Regions from separate parts of the Homo sapiens genome. Here region 1 is linked to region 2. The links are contacts of gene promoters, found by promoter capture Hi-C in blood cells and fetal thymus (Javierre and others, 2016). All regions are on one chromosome and are shown on one strand. Each heading gives the region's core, a stretch centred on a gene start or on the middle of the fragment in contact. The rest is flanking DNA. Distances are from core to core; before and after follow the strand shown. Region 1 overlaps ETF1 (eukaryotic translation termination factor 1). Region 2 holds the start of PKD2L2 (polycystin 2 like 2, transient receptor potential cation channel).

Region 1 (3,834 bases), core at 519-3,018, 620 kb after region 2:
CACATCCCTGTAGTCCCAGCTACTTGGGAGGCTGAGCTGGGAGGATCACTTAAGCCTGGGAGATCGAGGCTGCAGTGAGCCATGATTGCCACTGCACTCCAGCCTAGGCAAGATAGCCAGACCCAGTCTCAAAAAAAAAAAAAAAAAAAAAAAAAAAAATATATATATATATATATATATATATATATATATTTTTTTTTTTTTTTAAAGGCAATTTCTTTGGTGGACCTTCTACCATAAGGCTACTTCCTCCAGATCTTGAAAGTGTATTATGGCTGAGCCCATGTTATAAAATGTGCTTTAAATGCTTTAGGCTGAATCAGCTGTCATACTGCTGAGAGCTTTGCTGCTATGTATCTCCAAGAATAAATCAGAAAAAGAAAATAAGGAACAGGTTTTAGTTTCTTTGAAATCAAACTCCATTCTACAGCCAATTCTGACAACCCAACTAAACAAGGAACCTCCACAGGATCCATAAGAAGCCCACCTAAAAATGGTTGATTTCAGAAGAGAAGGGGTTCAGAAAAGCACAGGGGAATGTTTCCTGATAAACATCTGTAAACCTGCTGTTTAACTCAGAGGCAAGTTTTTAACCCAAGGAATTTTAAAAAGATGTGTCTGTTCCAGTGCTCACACAGAGGACTCACCTACTCCTACCTAGGGTCTTACATAATAAAGCATCTACTTCTTACTTACCTGATCAAACATATCAGATTGACTTAGTTCAGTTTTAAAGTCAGCGGATCCAGCTAAAACTAGACCAGCCACATTCACTTTGTCCCCAGAAATAAACAGCTGCACAGCAGTCTCTGCTACTTTCCGAACATAGTTATGTCGCTTTTCCATTCTTAAACGGGCAAAACGCAAGGCTGACTGACCTCCTCTACCTTTGACACAAAAGTAGCAAGAGAAAAAGGCAATTATTAAGAACTACAAGATGTCTTCAAATTAAAAATAAAATAATCATGTCATCATCTAAGAAAAGGACAAAGAAAAATCACCATTCCCTTAACTAAACGTTCAGCATAAACTGCTACTTGTTTTCAGAGAGCGACTACTAAGTCTATGTCAAGAGAGGAGCTGTAAGTACCAATGAGGCACCAGTCATTACAGGAGGCTTCTCTCCCCATCATCTGGATTCACTCCCCTCACATCATACTGTTTTCTCTCTCTCTCTTTTTTGAGACAGAGTCTCACTCTGTCGCCCAGACTGGAGTGCAGTGGCGCAATCTTGGCTCAATGCAACCTCCGTCTCCCGGGTTCAAGCAATTCTCCTGCCTCAGCCTCACAAGTAGCTGGGATTACAGGCGCCCGTCACATTTTTGTATTTTTAGTAGAGACAGGGCCGGGCTGGTCTCGAACTTCTGACTTCGTGATCCACCCGGCTCGGCCTCCCAAAGTGCTGGGATTACAGGCGTGAGCCACCGCACCCGGCCCACCATACTGTTTTCTTATTGCTAGACACAAAGTAAGTGGGTTCATGTTCTCCTCCTGTATTACCGTGTTTCTTTGGGAGATCCACAGTGAATTTGTGCAGGACTTCTCTTGTGTTTCCTTGGAGTGTGCCAAAAAGTGCACCACTACCATCTATTACAATGAATCCAAACTTGCTATCATCTGAAAGTAGTGCTGTAAGAGCCTGAAAAGCAAACACAAGTACCACACGGTGAATCCCAAAGCTTTGCTAAGGTCAAAAAAACTCTGAAAGGATATATACAAGCCCTTTCACTCCACTCACCATGCTATTAGCACTGTGGGAAAACCTTCTACGGAATAATTTATAGACTTCAGTTATAAACATGTAACTCTTATGGACAAATTTGAACCCAATAAGGAAATAACGAATGATATCTATGTGAAGCTTTTCAACACATTTGACATGGGCATGTAAATATAAAACCAGAAAGATATCTGTATGCCCATGTTTATAGCAATATTACATACAGCAGTTAATACTACTCAATCTCAAAAAGGAAGAAAATTTTGAAACACACTACAACAGGGATGAAACTTGAATACATGCTAAGTGAAATAACCCTGTCAAAAAAGGACAAATACTGTATGACTCCACTTATATGAGGTTCCTGGAGTAATCAAAATCAGAGACAAAAAGTCAAATGGTGGTTGCCAGGGGCTGGAAAAAAGGGGGAACAAGGAATTATTGCTCAATGGATACAGTTTCAGTTTTATAATATAGAGTTCTAAGCTGGGTATGATGGCTCACACATGTAATCCCAGCACTATGGGAGGCTGTGGCAGGCAGATGGCTTGAGCTCAGGAGTTTGAGACTGGCCTGGGCAACATAGCGAAACACTGTCTCTACAAAAAAATACAAAAATTAGGTGGCTGTGGTGACACGTGCCTGTAGTCCCTACCAGCTACTTGGAAAGGCTTTAGTCTGGGAGGTGTAGGTTGCAGTGAGCCAAGATTGTGCCAGTGTACTCCAGCCTGGGTGATCCAGAGACCTTGTCTCAAAAAACAAAAAAACTTTAACTTGTTCCTTTTTTTTTTTTTTTTGAGACAGGGTCTCACTTTGCTGGCCAGGCTGGAGTGCAGTAGCCATCATAGCTCACTGCAGCCTCGAAGTCTTGGACTCAAATGATCCTTCTGCCTTAGCCTCCCAAAGTGCCGGGGTTACAGGCATGAGCCAGCATGTCTTTAAAGGTATTGCAGCTAATGATTCTGAGTTTTATGAGGAAAACCTTCCTTCTATGTTAACTTTATATCCCTTTATGCCTTCCCAAAGAGAAAATATTGAAACAGTCCTGGGACATACATAGATAAGAGTTCTCACAGTGGAATCGGAATACTACACACTTAGTTGATCTCTAATTGCCAGGGGACAATCTCTTTGGAAGTAAGAAATTGTTACCCATTCCATTTTATTTTTATAAACTGATCCTCCTCTTTGGCCTCCCAAAGTGCTGGGATTACATAGGTGTGAGCCACAACACCTGGCCTTACCATTCCATTTTAAGAAAATAGCCCCTTCAATAATTGACTAGAAAGCAGATGGATCAACTAAGAATCCATCTTTAACAAACCATGCTAGATAGTTGGCATTAAGACATGAATATTGTGGCCGGGCGTGGTGGCTCATGCCTGCAATGGCACTTTGAGAGGCCAAGGTGGGTGGATCACTCGAGGTCAGGAGTTTCAGACCAGCCTAGCCAACATGGTGAAATCTCATCTACTAAAAATACAAAAATTAGTTGGGCGTGGTGGTGCACACTTGTAATCCCAGCTACTCAGGAGGCTGAGGCAGGACAATCACTTGAATTCGGGAGGTGGAAGTTGCAAGGAGCCGAGATCGTGCCATTGCACTCCAGCCTGGGCAACAGAGCAAAACTCAATCTCAGAAAAAAGAAAAAGAAAAAGAAAAAAGACATGAATATGAATATTGCACGTTAATAATATAGCCTTATCAAAATGACCCGTTAGGTAGATTGAAGTTTTTAATAAATCTGCTTATCAGGGAATAGGCATATCCCTTATTAGAATATATAATTACCCTGATAAACAGGATATAACCCTCTCAGTTAAAGCTAAAATGTACAAAGTTAGCAAGATTAAACAGTATCTTAGAAAAGGAGTTAAGGTTTGGAAAAAAGCCAACAAGGCTAACTCAGTAAGTGAGCAAAAGCCAGACAACATGGGTACCTGGCACTGTTTAAATCAACAAGATTCAAAATCGGCTTTCATCCAACCAGATACAGGTAAGTGGTTTCAGTGGCTGAGAGGCTCCCTGAAAAACCCTCTGCTGTAAGTAGAGTGTGGTAGTGAAGAGAAAAACAGTCTGGATTGTCTATGCAGTCGACCAAGATCCAACTATAA
Region 2 (3,966 bases), core at 1-2,500:
AGCTGCTGGGAGAGGTTGAGCTGGGGATCCCTTAAGATCAGGAGTTTGAGGCCAGACTGGGAAATATAGCGAGACTCCATCTCTAAAAAAAAAAAAATTATGTAAATTTGATTACCTATATATGGGTGTTTTTCCTCTAATAATTTCAATTTCAGATAATCTGTTACTTTAGAAAGCATAATTTTGTGAACAGCTGAGAGTCCCAGTACAGGAAAGCCCAAATCCTTTTGTTAAAACTATTCTAAAGCTTTTTTTCCTCTCGGGCTTCTAGTTCACTGGCTGTCAGCCTTTTGCGAGGCCTCTCCTGTTCCTCTCATCGATGGTAGTTTTTGACCCTCACTACTGTGTGGCCGTTTTGCTTTTTATCTACACATAAAACAGCATTTATCGACAGCAGTCTACATCTCTTTCAGGGAAATAACAAAAGTGGCTTTATCTTTTACTTTCAAAACTGGTTAGTGGTTTTCTTTGCAGGTTTCCCTGGGGCCTTTGGACTGGATTCCATTTTATTTTCCTTTTTATCAACACGAGAATCCGTCCTGGTCTTACATCCTGGAGGGCTTTTGGCTGCCTTAATTTACAGCCAAATTAGTTTGGCCTTTTCTATAGCTGGTTTACCAACCTTCTCATCTTTGCAAAGCTTCTGGGTCAGATGTGGGTCTGGGCCCCAGGACTCCTGTGTCGGCCTGACCTTTCACATAATCACTGCAGAGTTTTTCATCTATTTTTACATCACGGGGGCAGGGGAGTGGAAGCTACTTCCAGCAACAGCTCTCGGTTAATAACCAGTTTCTGCAAGTAGCAGCAGCAGCAGCAGCGTAGGGTCACGGTTAGGAATTTGGGCTTGGGCATCCAAGACTTGGCCCCAACTTCCAGTGAATTACTTCATTTCTCAGCTTCTCGGTTTCTTCAGGCCTAAAATGAGGACAAAAATACCTACCTTTCACGGAGGTGGATGTGGAGACTAACAAGGCGATAAATGTTAAAGGTATTCGAGAGAGAGAAGCCCGTGATAATGAATGACTACGATTTTTAAGCCCACAGCCAGGTTATTCCCAGAAGTTGGCCCTCCGCACCAGACCCCAGCAGCCCGCAGCCCGCCTCGGGCGAAAGGCCTCCCGGGCTCCTGCGGCGCAGCCGCGCTGACGACTTGTCGAGTAGCTCGCCGCCCTGGAGGAGCTGGGGGCTCGCGCAGGCGTCAGAGCCGGGCAGCGCGCGCCGCAAGACTAGCGCGCAAGCGCCGCGGCCTCAGGCGAACGAACGGGCGGTGTAGTGCAGGTCCGCCATGGCTGAGGCGTCACGGTGGCACCGAGGCGGTGAGGGGTCCTCTTAAGGAGTGGGAGGGACAGGGGCGATTTGGCAGTTCCAGACACCCTGAAAGGAACTCTGCGGCCCCAAATTCGTTTGAGAGATGTGACTGCCGACACCTTTAGCCCTCACAGCCTCCCCTGGGGAAGCGGAGAGGGACAGATGGTCCCATTGCACAGACGGGAAAACTGAAGCCCTGAGCGAGGTGGCGCTCGCCTCTTGCCGGAGGCTCGAGCTGGGCGTTGTCACCTGTCGAGTGACCGTCGCTAGGCCGGTCTCTAAAGTCCTTGGTTGATCTGGGGAGTCGTGACCTTGACAGAATTCAAGCCGAGGTGTTTTTCCCCTGTCCAGCAGAAACCAGCCTTCCCAAGAAGCTGTATTGAGGGTGGAGAAAACGGTTAGGACAGATGAGAGGTTTTACTTGTTTCGTATTTTGCTTTTTCATCTTAAGACTGGCGAGAAGACATCATGATATAAAATCTGTTAGTGGCCGGGCGCAGTGGCTCAAGCCTGTAATCCCAACACTTTGGGAGGCCGAGGCGGGCGGATCACAAGGTCAAGAGATCGAGACCATCCTGGCCAACATGGTGAAACCCCATCTCTACTAAAAATACGAAAATTAGCTGGGTGTGGTGGCGCGCGCCTGTAGTCCCAGCTACTCGGGAGGCTGAGGCAGGAGAATCGCTTGAACCGGGGAGGCGGAGGCTGCAGTGAGACGAGATCGCGTCACTGAACTCCAGCCTGGCGACAGAGCTAGACTCCGTCTCAAAAAAAAAATCTGTTATTAATAGTATATAGTAAAAAAATTATCCCTGCCTCGTAAAACTAAGAATTGAAAAATAGCCAGAAGCTATTGGAGCTTTCCTCCCCGCAGTGTAAGGACTAAAAGTGGCTGTGGTTTTTCCATTGTTGTCACTTATAAATTACATAATAATGTAAAGAAAAATTTTGTCTTATATCTCACAGGGGCTTCGAAACATAAGTTGCATTACAGAAAGGAAGTAGAAATTACAACCACACTTCAGGAATTGTTACTCTACTTTATTTTTTTAATAAACCTATGTATATGTAAGTACACAGATATAAAGATGCTGTTTGTTTGAACTAAGAAGTTAAAATGTGGAGATGAAAAATAAAACATACAAACTTCAAAACCACAGGCTGTCAGGCTACTAAAACTCAAAATACAGTGACACGTTTAAACATAATCTTAAATTCATTTAGATTCATTTCATTTAGAAATTGACTATTTTCAGTTCTTAAGGGGCAAAATTTTACATCGCAAATGTAAGAAGCTTCCATAGTCAATACTGACTGAATTAGAATTATTCCTTTCATTTGGCAGTTCTGTCTTGAGCATAATTCATCCCTTGGGTTGGCAACTGCAATTTGATTTTGTTTAGAGTCATATAGACACATCAGCTGAGTTTCATAAATCAAAGTACAAATGAGGCCAAAGTTCATCTTGGTGTCTGCCATTAGCTTGGTTCTTTTCACTGACCTATTGCAGTTAAAAAAATAGTTTGTGCTGAGTCAATGCAAATAATTAAGGAGGACTGGGAAAACATCTCAACCTGCATTCCTCCTACCTGTGGGTCAATAGCATTGGCTTAATATGCAAAGAGGAGTATTAAAGAGCATTTGTCGATGGCACCCAACATAACAGTAGATGAAAGCTCACTGGCAGTATTGTCTCATGTTGGTATGTGCTACACACTGGCAATTGTATAGCAATTAAGTAATTAATTGGTGTTGTAGGGGTGAGTTTGAGTCTGCTCTTGATTGAAAAGACAACTATAAAATTAGCCAGGTGTGGTGGCACACCCCTGTAGTCCTAGCTACTGAGAAGGCTGAGGTGGAGGATTGCTTGAGCACAGGAGGTCGAGGCTGCAGTGAACTGTGATTGCAACGACTGCACTTCAGCCTGGGTGACAGGCTGAGACCCTGTCCCAAGGAAAAAAAAAAAAAAGATAACTGTAGGCAACTTTATAAATTAAGATATCTTAGACTGCTTTATAAAAGCTTGGTTATGAAAACTACATGCTTACTACAGAACATTTGGAAAATGTAAAAATGTAAGTAAAAAGATCATTTATAATCCCATTATTCAGAGATTTTTAAAGAACACTTTTTTTAATATAATACAGCAACCTGAATCTCCATTTATAATGTGATTTTTTTTCTTTTTTTTTTCTTTTTTGAGACAGTCTCGCTCTGTCACCCAGGCTGGAGTACAGTGGCTCACTGCAACCTCCACCTCCTGAGTTCAAGCGATTCTCCTGCCTCAGCCTCCGGAGTAGCTGGGATTACAGGCCTGTGCCACCACGCCCGGCTAATTTTGTATGTTTTTAGTAGAGACAGGGTTTTCACCATGTTGGTCAGTCTGGTCTCGAACTCCTGATCTCAGGTGATCCACCCACCTCAGCCTCCCAAAGTTCTGGGATTATGGGTGCAACACCACGCCCCGCCACTAGTTAATATTTTTAAAAACTCATCATGTGCCAAAACACAGTTTAAAATGTTCTGTGTGCATCATCTCACTTCTCACAACAAAACTAGGGGGTAAGAGATACTATCCCTGTGATGGGACTCACACCCTTATCTGTCTGAATTCAAAGTCCATGTAACCTTAACCACTCACCATACTATATTGCCTTA

The links. The method cuts DNA at HindIII sites, captures the fragments that hold promoters and counts their contacts. A CHiCAGO score of 5 or more calls a contact.
Region 1: a fragment that was not itself captured here is called in contact with the fragment with the promoter of PKD2L2 in region 2 in 1 of 17 cell types (total B cells); the score reaches 5.1 in total B cells.

The regions. Positions count from the first base shown.
Region 1 is chr5:138,512,068-138,515,901 of GRCh38, forward strand. ETF1 (eukaryotic translation termination factor 1) reads right to left here. Exons shown (of 11, transcript NM_004730.4): 5 at 1,501-1,639; 6 at 697-887. Among named protein-coding and RNA genes, the nearest start is that of ETF1, 29 kb to the right of the region's middle. The HindIII fragment of the contact is 182 bases long and covers 1,678-1,859 here.
Region 2 is chr5:137,888,207-137,892,172 of GRCh38, forward strand. It overlaps PKD2L2 (polycystin 2 like 2, transient receptor potential cation channel), which reads left to right and starts at 1,251. Exons shown (of 15, transcript NM_001300921.2): 1 at 1,251-1,316; 2 at 2,275-2,376. The coding sequence starts at 1,286. It overlaps PKD2L2-DT (PKD2L2 divergent transcript), which reads right to left and starts at 1,113. Exons shown (of 4, transcript XR_948815.3): 1 at 941-1,113; 2 at 1-82. The HindIII fragment of the contact is 1,963 bases long and covers 639-2,601 here.